2 separate regions of the Homo sapiens genome follow, and region 1 is linked to region 2. The links are contacts of gene promoters, found by promoter capture Hi-C in human tissues and cell types (Jung and others, 2019). All regions are on one chromosome and are shown on one strand. Each heading gives the region's core, a stretch centred on a gene start or on the middle of the fragment in contact. The rest is flanking DNA. Distances are from core to core; before and after follow the strand shown.

The links. The method cuts DNA at HindIII sites, captures the fragments that hold promoters and counts their contacts. A contact is called where the count stands out against the background at its distance.
Region 1: a contact is called between a fragment that was not itself captured here and the fragment with the promoter of CA5A in region 2, in 3 of the 25 tissues and cell types used here (dorsolateral prefrontal cortex, lymphoblastoid cells and spleen).

What each region holds. Positions count from the first base shown.
Region 1 is chr16:87,785,349-87,792,525 of GRCh38, forward strand. No RefSeq gene overlaps it. Among named protein-coding and RNA genes, the nearest start is that of KLHDC4, 23 kb to the left of the region's middle. RefSeq lists enhancers at 4,283-4,784, 4,602-5,801. The HindIII fragment of the contact is 6,509 bases long and covers 940-7,177 here.
Region 2 is chr16:87,933,668-87,940,470 of GRCh38, forward strand. It overlaps CA5A (carbonic anhydrase 5A), which reads right to left and starts at 2,862. Exons shown (of 7, transcript NM_001739.2): 1 at 2,642-2,862. The coding sequence starts at 2,783. The HindIII fragment of the contact is 20,256 bases long and covers 1-6,803 here.

The DNA.
Region 1 (7,177 bases), core at 2,944-5,443, 150 kb before region 2:
GCCAGAACCTTGGAAGAAGTAGGGCCACTCCCTGGTTTCTGATGGGGCCAGAGTGCTGGGTTGGGGACGTTGCCTCCAGAGCTGTCTCTGGGGGCCCTGACGCTGCCGTGTGCTGGGAGTGAAGGAGCTCCTACCTCACGGGCCAAACCCACTCCCGCTCTCTCCCAGGCTCCAGGGATAAAACTGGAGACCACTATGTCTTGCTTTCCGTGTTCTTTCTCCCTGCCATGGCTGGGTGCAGAAGCTGAAGCCGCCTTTGCAAAATTATGACTGCAGCAGTGAAAGAGATCTAATGTAACCGACATCATCTTACTTCTTTTTGGTGGGTGGGGGGGGATGGAGTTTCACTCTTGTTGCCCAGGCAGGAGTACAATGGCACAATCTCGGCTCACTACAACCTCCACCTCCCAGATTCAAGCGATTCTCCTGCCTCAGCCTCCCGAGTAGCTGGAATTACAGGCATGTGCCACCACGCCTGGCTAATTTTGTATTTTTAGTGGAGATGGGGTTTCTCCATGTTGGTCAGGCTGGTCTTGAACTCCCAACCTTAGGTGATCTGCCTGCCTCGGCCTCCCAAAGTGCTGGGATTACAGGCATGAGCCAGTGCGCCCGGCCTTAACCCCTATTTTAAATGTGCATAATTTCTACATTGTCAAATCACAGAGTCATTGCATATGATCACATCTCTCATTTTGTCCTAGTCCTTCAAACAGCTATGCACGTGTATCTCCCACTCCCAGCAGTCCTTCTCTTGATATCTTGTCACTTTGGTTGTCTGAAACCCAGCCTCTAGGAGGTTCCTTAAAAGGCATATAGGGACCAGGTACAGTGGCTCATGCCTGTAATCCCAGCACTTTGAGAGGCCAAGGTGGGTGGGTCACCTGAGGTCAGGAGTTCAAAACCAGCCTGGCCAACATGGCAAAAACCCCGTCTCTACTAAAAATAAAAAAGTTAGCCGGGCGCGGTGGCAGGCATCTGTAATCCCAGGTACTCTAAGGCTGAGGCATGAGAATTCCTTGAGTCCGGGAGACAGAGGTTGCAGTGAGCCGAGATCATGCCATTGCACTCCAGCCTGGGGGAGACAAAGTAGAACTCTGTCTCAAAAAAAAAAAAAAAAAAAGGAGGCTGGATACTGTGGCTCACACCTGTAATTGCAGCACTTTGGGAGGCCAAGGCGGGCAAATCACCTGAAGTCAGAAGTTCAAAACCAGCCTGGCCAGCACAGTGAAACTTTGTCTCTAGTAAAAATACAAAAATTAGCTAGGTGTGGTGGCGCACACCCCTAGTCCCAACTACTCAGGAGGCTGAGGCAGGAGAATCAATTGAACCCAGGAGGCCGAGGTTGCAGTGAGCCGACATTGAGCCACTGTATTCCAGCCTGGGCGACACAGTGTGACTCCATCTCAAAAAAAAAAAAAAAAAAATACAAAGGCTTATGGGAATAATGAGTTCTTGCACGTCGATGTTTTGTCTATGCCCTTTGTACTTGAAGATCGGTTTTGCTTGGTGCGTCTTGAAAGGAGGCCCTGAGCAGTGATTTCTGAGAGTTCACAGAGGATGTAGACCCCAGCCTCTTTAAACATAACCAGAGTCCCCTTGCACTCACCCACTAATGCAGAGAAAACCACTCTGTCAGTGATAATCCTATTACATGTGAATGTAAATAAATTATTTTTTTAATGAAAAGCAACTATGTTTCTAAAACCACAACATATTTAGTAAGAAGGATGGCTTGTTTTATGTTTTTGCAAATAGAAGACAATTGGATTTTTATTTTATGTATGTATTTATTTATTTAGAGACAGGGTCTCACTCTGTCACCCAGGCTGCAGTGCAGTGGCGTGATCATGGCTCACCACAGCCTTAACTTGCCTGGCTCAGGTAATTCTCCCACCTCAGCCTCCCAAGTGGCTGGGACTATAGGTGTGCACCACCACACCTGGCTAATTTTTGTATTTTTTTTGTAGAGATGGAGTTTCACCGTGTTGCCCAAGCTGGTCTCAAACTCCTGGGCTCAATAAATCTGCCTTCCTCGGCCTCCAGAAGATCTGGGATTATAAGCATGAGCCACTGAGCCTGGCCCAGATTTTGTTTTCTGTTTTGGGATAGAGTCTTATTCTGTCACCCAGGCTGCAGTGCAGTGGCACAATCTCAGCTCACTGCAACCTTCACCTCCTGGGTTCATGCAATTCTCCTGCCTCAGCCTCTGGAGTAGCAGGGATTACAGGCATGTGCCACCATGCCCAGCTAATTTTTGCATTTTTAGTAGAGACAGGGTTTCACCATGTTGGCCAGGCTGGTCTTGAACTCCTGACCTGAAGTGATCCACTCGCCTTGGCCTCTCAAAGTGCTGGGATGACAGGTGTGAGCAATCACGCCTGGCCTGTATTTTCAGTAGAGACAGGTTTTCACCATGTTGGCCAGGCTGGTCTCAAACTCCTGACTTCAGGTGACCCACCTGCCTTGGCATCCCAAAGTGCTGGGATGACAGGTGTGAGCCACCATGCCAGGCCAGTGGCCCAGAGTTTATATCTGGTTCTGCATTCTATCTCCTGGCTGCATCATGTCATATGGCCTCTGGAAAACTTCACTGAACACTCATGAAAGAATCCCTGGACTTTTTGTTTTGCTATGTTGTCATGCTCTCTGCTTTTTTGTGGGGATTTGGAATGTTCAAAAACTATGCTGCCACTGCCATCTTCCCAGATCTTCATAAGATTGCTGATAAGGGAAAGGGGTAAGAAATAGAAGGTAGGCCATGTGTGGTGGCTCACACCTGTAATCCCAACACTTCGGGAGGCCGAGGCAGGTGGATCAGTTGAGCACAGGAGTTTCAGACCAGCCTGGACAACATGGTGAAACCCTGTCTCTTCAAAAAATCCAAAAATTAGCTGGGCATGCTAGCACACACCTGTAGCCCCAGCTACTCTGAAGGCTGACATAGGAGGATCTCTTGAGCCAGGGAGATCAAGGCTGCAGTGAGTGGTAACCACTCCAGCCTGGGTGACAGAGTGAGATCCTGTCTCAAAAAAAAAATTAAAAAGAAAGAAATAGAAGGTGAAGCTGCAATGTTCTCTCTCAGCATGTCTATTTAACATTGTACCAGAAGGCTTAGCACAAAAGGCAGGAAAAAGAAATAAAAGGTTTAAGGTTTAGAAAATGTAGAAAATTTAAAGAATGTACGGATAATCTATTAGAATCCATAAGTAAATTTATCTAGGTTGCTGGATACAAGATCAACATACAAAAACTAGTTGTTTTTCTATATATCAGCAGCAAACAAAACAAAGCTAAAATCTTAAAAGTTACCATTTATAAAGTCACCATTTATAAAAAACATCAGATACTTAAGAATAAATCAAACAGGCCAGGTGCAGTGGCTCACACCTGCAATCCCAGCACTTTGGGAAGCCAAGGCAGGTGGATCACTTGAGGTTAGGAGTTTGAGACCAGCCTGCCCAACATGGTGAATCCCTGTCTTGACTAAAAATACAAAAATTAGCCGGGCATGTTAGCATGCACCTGTAATCCCAGATACTCGGGAGGCTGAGGCACCAGAATCGCTAGAGCCTGGGAGGTGGAGGTGTCAGTGAGCCAAGATCACGCCACTGCACTCCAGCATGGGTGACAGAATGAGACTTCAATTCAAACAAAACCAAAACCAAAACAAACAAACGAAGAATAAATCAAACAAAGAATTTGCAAGACCTCTACACTGAAAACTACAAAATATTGTTGAGAGAAATGTAAGGAGACCAAAAAATAATGGCAGGGCTCTTTTAGTAACTGAGACAAGACTAAATATTAGAAAGATGTCAGTTCTCCTCAAACTGACCTACAGATTCAACACCAATTTTTTTTTCTTTTCCTTTTTTTTTTTTTTTTTTTTTTTTTTGAGACAGGGTCTCACTCTGTTGCCCAGGCTGGAGTCCAGTGGCTTGATCTCACCTCACTGCAACCTCCGCCTCTCGGGTTCAAGCGATTCTCCTGCCTCAGCTTCCTGAGTAGCTGGGATTACAGGCGTGAGCCACCACACCTGGCTAATTTTGTATTTTTAGTAGAGACAGGGTTTCGCCATGTTGGTCAGGCTGGTCTTGAATTCCTGACCTCAGGTAATCCACCTGCCTTGGCCTCCCAAAGCACTGGGATTACAGAAATGAGCCCTGGAGCCTGGCTGCTTTGGGTGTTCTCGAGACTCTACACTCTCCTCCCGTACACCACAGCAAACAGCTCGGACCCCCTGACAGCTCCTGGCCTTCCCCAGCTGAGTGGAAGGCTTCTCCAGGGCTTACTTCAGTTCTTCGTGGATTTTGCCCAGTCGCCCGGAGGCTGCAGTTCCACCAGGCAAAGCCAAACATGCTTGTTTGTTCTATTAAGAAATGGCTGGTTAATCTTTGGACCTAAGTGCAATGTTGGACGTGGCTGACGTTCATTGCTTGAGGAGGTATGTGTTATTGAAATGACCCAGAAGGCTGCATTTGGCAGTTTCCCTTACTTCTGACCCAAGCCTCATGCAGGGCTGTGTGGGTGCTGCCTGCAGCCTTTTGCAAAAGATGGAAAAATGGCAGGAGGCACGAAAGACCACCAGGAAAGCCGAGCGAGCTCCTCAGGCTTGTTCCATCAGGTCTGGGAAGTCAGTAAGCCATGGGAATGAGATCCCAGCAATTCTTGGGTCCTTCCAGCTGTTTCATTCCTTGGGAATTAACACATAGGACCCTGAGGGTTCTAACGCACAAGGGCAGGGAAGGGGGCCAGGCCATGCCCGCGAGCTTGCCAGGTCATTGTCCTGGGTCACGGGGTGGAGGAACCTGCTCTGTGCACGCAAGGCACGAGCTGACTTGCAGGGCCGCTGAGTCACGGGAGAGTCAGGAGTCAGTCCAGTGTAGACTGCGTGCTAGAGTGGTTTAACAAGGATGCCAAGTGCATTGTTCAAAACATGGCTCCCCTGTCTGCCGTGAGTCGTCTTGAGGCGGGGCTCCTGTAATAACCTTCCCCCAAGGCCTCTCCTCTGCAGCACCCCGCTGGACACCTGAGGTCCTCTCCCTGTACAAAGAAAACCCAAACCCACTGCTTCTCTTTGGCCATTAGCTTTTGGCCTCTTCAAGCTGCTCTTTGGGGTCTTCACGGTCTCTGGTGGGATTCTCTCTGCGAATTAGGTTTGCATTAAGTTTTCTATCTTTATTACGCAGAGAAGACTGGCTTCACGGGCTTTCCCCCTACTTGGCTAGCAGACACATCTTTTCAGCCCTAGGCAAAAGAATCCCGTGCTCGAATTATCCAGAGATAATGTACGTTTGCTGTAATTAACAACCCACCAGAGCCCTGGGGCGCTCCCTACAGACATGGGTCTGGTGTGGCAAATGTGCAAGGGAACTGGCTCTGCCCGGCCCTCCCAGGCAGCTCTCCCATTTGTCTCAGTATCATCGCCTTCCCAGCTCCCTGGGGCTCCCCCTCCCAGAGAGGAGCAGCCCAGGCCTGACTGCCAAGACACAGGGCATCATTTACCCACTATGGTTAGAAAGCTTGCCCAAGCAATGGCACCAAGCCAATAAATATTATTCTCTGCTATCAACAGCCAAGGCCACACTCTGATTTGTTAGTGGTGGGTTAAATAAACAAGACTTCTGGCTGGGCGCGGTGGCTCATGCCTGTGATCCCAGCACTTTGGGAGTGGATCACAAGGCCAGGAGATCGAGACCATCCTGGCTAACACAGTGAAACCCCATCTCTACTAAAAAAAAATACAAAAAATTAGCCGCTCGTGGTGGCATGCCACTCTGTAGACCCAGCTACTCGGGAGGCTGAAGCAGGAGAATAGTTTGAACCCAAGAGGCGGAGGCTACGGTGAGCCAAGATCGCCCCACTGCACTCCAGCCTCGGCGACAGAGTGAGACACCAACTCAATAAATAAAAAATAAAATAAACAAGACTTCCAGACCACGGGTGGAGAAGATCCAGCCAGGGAGCTGGGCACAACTCCCCGTTTCACTGTGCGGTTTCATTTCAGTTGGAAAGAACTTCATCTGTTGAAGTGCACAGACAGCATTCAGAGGCTAGAGACGCCGGCATCGGCACAGCACACAGTGCCCTCTGTTCCCCTGGCCCAGGCCAAGAGCTCTTTGTGTGTCTGAGTGACTGGTCAGCACTGGGCAACAAACCCACGCCGGGAGACGGACAGCGAGCCGCCTCAACCCACCAGCCTCTGGGGAGCCTCTCATCTCGCAAGCACCTGCGGAGGCCCGCCCGGCGCCAGACCAGTCCAGGCACCCAGAGGCCTCTGCTCTCCTGGAGCTCATGACAAGTAAACAAATACACAAGATGGTTTGGGATCCCGATGAATAAGTTAAGCAGGGCAACCCAACAGGGAGGACAGGGCTCCCGCATGTGACGGACCCAGGAGGGAGCGACCCCCCGTGTTGACATGGGGGGAAAGGCGGGAAGTCAGAGAGGCCGGGAGGTCAGAGAGGCCAGGAGGTCAGAGAGGCCAGGCCCCTTCACACGGGGTGGGCGGGGGGGGGGGGGATTTGCTCCCTCTGGAGGCCAAAGAGGAGGGTCCTTTCCACCTCTTCCAGCTTCTGGGGGCGGCTGGCTTCCTGGGCTTGTGGCGTGTCTGTCACTCCAGTCTCTGCCTCTGCCTTCACGTGGCCTCAGTGCATGTCCTCACATGGCCTTCTTATAAAGATACCTGTCATCGCATTTAGGACCCACCCTAATCCAGCACGACCTCATCTTAACTAATGGCACATGCAAAGACCCTGATTCCAAATCCGGTTATGTTCTGGGGATCCGGTGAACACAAATTTCGGTGCTTTGCTCAGTTTCTATGGAGTCTTGTGTATAGGAAGGGACAGGAGAAGAACCAAATTCTCATCTGAGGCAGATTTTTATTCCTCATTGCAAAATTTAAACATGAAACCAATTAAAACCTTTTTGGGGAGGCCTCTGCTCAATCAGTCAACCAAGGACTATTTACCAAGCAGCTGGTCTTGGGCTCAGCTCTGCAGTCAGCACTGTGGTACCTGACACGGATTGGCAGCTTGCTCTCAGAACATTTCCAGGCTAACCAAGAGGACGAGCACAACGAGCTATTTTTCAAGGAATAGATCAGTTAAGATATAACCCACCTACCGTACGATTTGCCCATTTAGAGTGCGCAATTCAGTGGCCGTTAGTACAA
Region 2 (6,803 bases), core at 1,612-4,111:
GAGCCCCCATGCCTGGTTCTAAAATTATCACTGAGCGTTTTGTAACTCTTTGACTTTTCTCTCAAGGCCAAACCACCAGTGATTTTTCAATAATTTTTAGTAACAATATTCTTTTTCCAAGTGAAATAATCTTCAGAATGCCCATAAATAAAACACCGACATAGAAGGATGAATTCCTTATGATGTTCCAATCTTCTCTGCTTGGCAGAATATTCTGCTCTTTGTGGAACTCTGAAATGATTTGGCAGAGCCCTCTGTTCACTGGGAACAGGTTGAGGACCATGGTGTAAATGGATTTAGGTGCCGATACAGAATATGACTCTCTCTAGCACACGATGTAAGAGGACATGTTGCCACAGTAAGAAATGGAATGCTACCTGCTGCCCACTGACAGGGAAATGCTTAAATAGACACAGGGCACCCACCGCTGCCTGTGTTAGCAACAGCAGCAGCTGGCGTCTAGCAAGGGCTTCCTGGAGCCATGTGCTGTCCCCAGCCTTTGCAGGCCCCACCTCGGACCCTTCTCCCAACGACACTGTGCCGTAAGCACCATTATCAACCCCCTGTTACAGACGACAAAACCAAGGCTGGGGGAAGTTAAGAAAGTCACAGAGGGGACAGCTGGGCGTGGTGGCTCACGCCTGCAATCCCAGCACTTTGGGAGGCTGAGGCGGGCAGATCACCTGAGGCTGGGAGTTCAAGACCACCCTGAGCAACATGGAGAATCCCTGTATCTACTAAAAATACAAAATTAGCCGGATGTGGTGGCGCATGCCTGTAATTCCAGCTACTCGGGAGGCTGAGGCAGGAGAATTGCTTGAACCTGGGAGGTGGGGGTTGCGGTGAGCTGGAGATCGCACCACTGCGCTCCAGCCTGGGCAACAAGACAGAAATTAGTCTCAAAAAATAAAGGAAAGTCACAGAGGGGCAACAGCCATAGAGCAGTGGGGCCAAGATTCCAATCTAGGCAGGCTAGCGCTCTTGACGGTCGTACTAAGAATAAAAAAGGGGGGTGGGTGCAGTGGCTCACGCCTGTAATCCCAGCACTTTAGGAGGCCGAGGCAGGTAGACCACCTGAGGTCGGGAGTTTGAGACCAGCCTGGCCAACATGGCGAAATCCTATCTCTACTAAAAATACAGAAATTAGTTGGGCGTGGTGGCACACGCCTGTAGTCCCAGCTACTTGGGAGGCTGAGTCAAGAGGATCGCTTGAACCCAGGAGGCAGAGGCTGCAGTGAGCCGAGATCGCACCACTGCACTCCAGTCCACAGGTGTGGACCCCAACAGGAGGAATGAGTGTAGCTCACTCAGAGTCTGGGGTGGGCCAGGCTTTCTACACGCATCGTGTCATCCTTCCATGGCCCTGGAGAGAAAGTCTGGCCACCCCCATCTCGAGATAAGGACACAGAGGCTTGGGGGTGAAGACCTGCCGAGGCTCCACCTCAGCAAGCGTCAGTCGGACTGCATGCCTGGGGTCTGGCTCCTAAGCCCATGCTCTTTCAATGGCCCAAACATGGAATGCATGGAAGATTTCAGTTAGAAGAGAACTTGGCAGCTGCCAAAGCAGGCTCTCATTCTACGGAGGAAGCACCTGAGACCCAGAAAGAGGAAGGGCCTCGTTCAAGGTCACAAGGCACTGACCATGAAGCCAGGAGGGGCTGGCACGGGGCAGTTTCTTGGCAGAGCTGGCTGAGTGGTTTATTTGTTACAGGTTTGCTTGAAAGCGTTCTCTGCCGAAGAGTTTAGGAGCGATCGTGACTGGTTAGTGCAGCCCATTCCGCCGGGTCTGGATGGTGAGTCGTGCCAGTGTGTCCCGTGCGAACACGGACTACCCGCCTGCTCCCAGCATCTTGCCCTCCCCAGGACCCCTGAAACGGAGGCTAAATGATTCACCCAAGGTCACCAAATACAAGAGAAACGGAGTGTGGCCAGGCGCGGTGGCTCACGCCTGTAATCCTAGCACTTTGGGAGGCCAAGGTGGGTGGATCACCTGAGGTCAGGAGTTCGAGACCAGCCTGGCCAACATGGTGAAACCCCATCTCTACCAAAATACAAAAAATTAGCTGGGTGCAGTGGCGGGTGCCTGTAGTCCCAGTTACTTTGGAGGCTGAGGCAGGAGAATCACTTGAACCTGGAGGGCAGAGGTTGCAGTGAGCCGAGATCATGCCATTGCACTCTAGCCTGGGCAAAAGAGCAAAACTTCATCAAAAAAAGAAAAAAGAGGGCCGGGCGCCGTGGCTGATGCCTGCAATCCCAGCACTTTGGGAGGCTGAGACAGGCGGATCGCGAGGTTAGGAGTTCGAGACCAACCTGGCTAACACAGTGAAACCCTGTCTCTACTAAAAATACGAAAAATTAGCCAGGAGTGGTGGCATGCACCTATAGTCCCAGCTACTCAGGAAGCTGAGGCAGGAGAATCGCTTGAACCCGGGAAGTGGAGGTTGTGGTGAGCTGAGATCACGCCACTGTACTCCAGCCTGGGCCACAGAGCGAGACGCCATCTTAAAAAAAAAAAAAAAAAAACGGAGTGGAAATCTGAACCCATCTGGCTCGGGACGGTCTCTCCTCTCTCCTCTCGAAAGACCCCATCAGCTAAGACAAGGATCCAGTCGCATCTTAGGAAATTTGAGGCTCTACTTACAAGTGTTATTGCTGGTTTGCCATGCACAGGAACGCTGAGAACACCATCGCCCTGGCCTCATCGAACGACTCCAGAGAGGGGCCCACATCTGCTCAACCAAGAAGGAGAAAGCTGAGGTCTTCCAAGTGTTCCTCCCCAACATCTTGGGTCTGTTCCCACTGACTCCAGTCTGAAGAGGGTGATGTTCCCTGCTGTCTGTTCTCACTTTGATCAGGACCACTGTGGACTGGCGTGTACCCACCTCTTTTTGTAGAAACTCATCCCAACCCCTGAGCCTAATGGTTAAAGTTCAACCCATGCCTTTCCCAACAGGGTGGGTCCACAGGGATTAGTGGCCTCTGCTGGGGACAGGCCACTCAGGTCACTGGGCTTTGATCTGGCAAACAGGAGCACAAGTCTGCCAGGGAGCTAGAAAAACTGTACGGTGGGGCTGCGTGAGCACCAGGGGATTACGCGGGAGGCGGGGGCGAGTGGATGAGAGCAGAGTCCCTGTTTCTTTCATGGGGTTGACCGTGTGGTTTGGGGCTCCGGGACACTCAATACCAGGCACAAAGCCATGGTGTGCATGTGAGGAGGGACTGGCAGGCAGGCTCAGAAGTACAGGAATGGGACTGGCCAAAGCGCTGCTGGGTAGACAGGCCAGGGGAGCAGGGAGCTTCTGTCCACCCACCAGGGCTCCTGAAGTCATGGAGTCCTTGCTTGCCTTAAAATAGGTGCGATTTGATTCATTCATCCTCCCCGGAAGCAAGATGCCCTGTGGCTTCGGACACTTCCAGGTCATGCCTGCTGTCTTGGCATAAACATTAACAGGGCCACCTTTCTTTCTTTCCTTTTCTTTTTTTTTTTAGACAGAGTTTCACTTCTGTTGCCCAGGCTAGAGTGCAATGGCGTGATCTCGGCTCACTGCTACCTCTGCCTCCCAGGTTCAAGCAATTCTCCTGCCTCAGCCTCCTGAGTAGCTGGGATTACAGGCGCCCACCACCATGCCCAGCTAATTTTTTGTATTTTTAGTAGAGATGGGGTTTCACCACGTTGGCCAGGCTGGTGTTGAACTCCTGACCTCAGGTGATCTGCCTGCCTCGGCCTCCCAAAGTGCTGGGATTACAAGTGTGAGCCACTACGCCCAGCCTCTTTTCTTCGTTTCTTTTCTTTTCTTTCTTTCTTTTTTTGAGATGGAGTCTCGCTCTGTTGCCCAGGCTGGAGTGCAATGGCGTGATCCTGCCTCACTGCAACCTTTGCCTCCCAGGTTTAAGCAATTCTCCTGTCTCAGCCTCCTGAGTAGCTGGGATTATAGGCACACACCACCACAACGGCCAATTTTTTGTATTTTTAGTAGAGACGGGGTTTCACTGTGTTCCCCAAGCTGGTCTCGAACTCCTGAGCTCAGGCAATCCACCCACCTCGGCCTCCTAAAGTGCTAGGATTACAGGCATGAGCCACTGCGTCCAGCCTCTTTTCTTTTCTTTCTTTCTTTCTTTCTTTCTTTCTTTCTTTTTTTTTTTTTTTTTGAGGTGAGGTCTTGCTCTGTCACCCAAGGTGGAGTGCGGTGGTGCCATCATGGCTCACTGCAGTCTCAATCACCCAGGCTCAAGTGATCCTCCCTCCTCAGCCTCCCAAGTAGCTGGGACTATAGGTGCATGCCATTATGTCCAGCTAATTTTAAAAATTATTTGTAGAGGCAGGTTCTCGCCATGTTGCCCAGGCTGGTCTTGAACTCCTGGGCTCAAGCAATCCTCCCAGAGTGGCCTCCCAAAGTGCTCGGATTACAGGCATGAGCCACTGCCCCTGGCCTGGTACCTCCCTTCATGCCCAGGGTCCACATGGGTATGTTAGCTGGTCACTCTAGCCAGGCAGCTGGTGATATTTGCAGACGCCAACCCACAAAGAACCTTCCTTTGGGTCCTTTGAGCGGCACAGCAGTTTATTCACCCAGACACCTTTTACCTGTGAAATGGAACCCATGGGATTGGGATGCACCAGTTTGTGACTTCTTGTTGTTGTTTAAACTTACAATCTTTTAGGGGGCAGGGCTATCATAACTTTTCATAGAATCCTGGAATCTTAGATCTAGAAAACCCTACAGAACACAGGTGTTGAAATGCGAGTCCACTTGTAGGCTCCTGAAAGCCCAAGAATCCCACTGAAATCCCCCACACAATGGATAGGGTCTGCGGCTTTCGGCCACTGCTCTGGTGGGCCCAAGAGTTTGCTTGCATTTGTTTTGAGCAACAAAAACCAAGTCTGGATGATATGTTCTCTCCTTCCCACACAGTCATGGTGGAAATGCACCCACTCTTGGGAAGTCTGATTCATTGTCATTCATTCATTGACCCACTCACTCATTCATTGACTCACTCACTCACTCATTGACTCACTCACTCATTCACTCACTCACTCATTCATTCACTCACTCATTCATTCTCTCACTCAGTCAATCATTCATTCACTCATTCATTCATTCATTCACTCACTCATTCACTCACTTATTCATTCACTCACTCATTCACTCATTCACTCATTCATTCACTCATTCACTCATTCATTCATTCACTCATTAATTCATTGGCTTTTGCCTCCATTTCCTCATCTGTAAAGTAGGGAAGATTCTAGGATTCCATCATACACGATAACACTCTGTCGAGCTGTTGTTGACACAAGTGATGTCCTTAGAGCGGCACTTTCATTGCTGCAGGCCAAGCTCCCACCCCAGGCATTGCCAGCCCCATGTGAGCAGGGGCATCTCCTGAGTACACTCACCTGGGCAGCCGATGATGCCCCACAGGCTCCTGGGGCATGTCCTCTGCCATCCTCAGCCGTCCTGCCCTCTTCAGCCTGCCCAGTTTAGGTTGACTGCGTTGCAGCAGTACCCGTGGGCTGGGGGTCTCCCTGTCTTCCTCATCTCCCTGCTGCCCCATGGCAGGACTCTGCTTTACTTACAAAATATCACCAGCCCCAGTGTATTAATCAGGGTTCTCCAGAGAGACAGAACCAATGGGATAGACAAACAGATAGATAGATTAGAGAAAGAGAGAGAGAAAGAGATGATAGATAGATAGATAGATGATAGATTAGAGAGAGATGATAGCTAGATAGGTAGACAGATGACAGACAATAGATAGGTAGATAGATAGGTAGATAGATGGTAGATAATGGATAGATGAAGAAAGATGATTGGTAGGTAGATAGATGGTAGGTAGATGAGAGCTAGATGATAGATGACAGGTAGACATGTTACCAGATGGAAAGTCTTAACTTCGAGTTGTCCAGGTTCTTGGTGTGTTAAAGAATTGAGCAAAACACACAAACAAAGCAAGAAAAGAACAAGCAAGTGGCTCAAGAACCCTGATTACCATGTTCTTCAGGGTTTTTATTAAGCTAAAAGAATTTGGTAACACCCCCAGGTGCCCTTTAGAGGGCTCCAATTGGTTACATCCTATGAAGGATTGGCCCCTGACCAATCAGAGGCAGAAGTGGAGGCTTCTGTTCTGTTACCGCAGTAGTGAGACTGTGGCCCGTGTGCCGCCCAATCTTGCCTGGAACCGGCTGCTCCTGCTGCTCTTTTGCTTCTGCCTTAAACCTGGGTTACCCTCATTCCCTATTCTCCCGCCTCAGGTAGGTGATAGATAGAAATAAAGAGATAAATGATAGGTAGATCGATAGATAGATAGATAGATAGATAGATAGATGAATGAGAGGACATTAATTAGGGGAATTGGCCCATATGACTATGGAGGCTGAGAAGTTCCAGGACAGGCCACTGCAAGCTGGAGACCCTGGGGTGCTGGTAGCATGGCTCAGTCCAAGTCCGAAGGCCTCAGAACCAGGGAAGCTGAGGGTGTAACTCTCAGTCCAAGGCCAAAGGCCTGAGAACCCTGGGGCAGAGGGTGGCATTGGTGTAAGTCCTGGAGTCCCATGGCCGGGGAGCTGGGCGTTGTCCAAGGGAAGGAGAGGAAGCGCACGCCCCAGTCCGGCAGATGGACAGACACATTCACCTTTTCTCTGTTTTTGTTCTCTCTGGGTCCCAGCAGATTGGATGGTGCCACCCACATCCAGGTGGAACAGGAATTAAAACAAATTAAAGAATATGTAAGCAGAAACTCAGTTGTATGTAAGAAAACCCAATTCCCCCTGAGAAAGAGAAAGTGCTGAAGTCCTTTAAAAT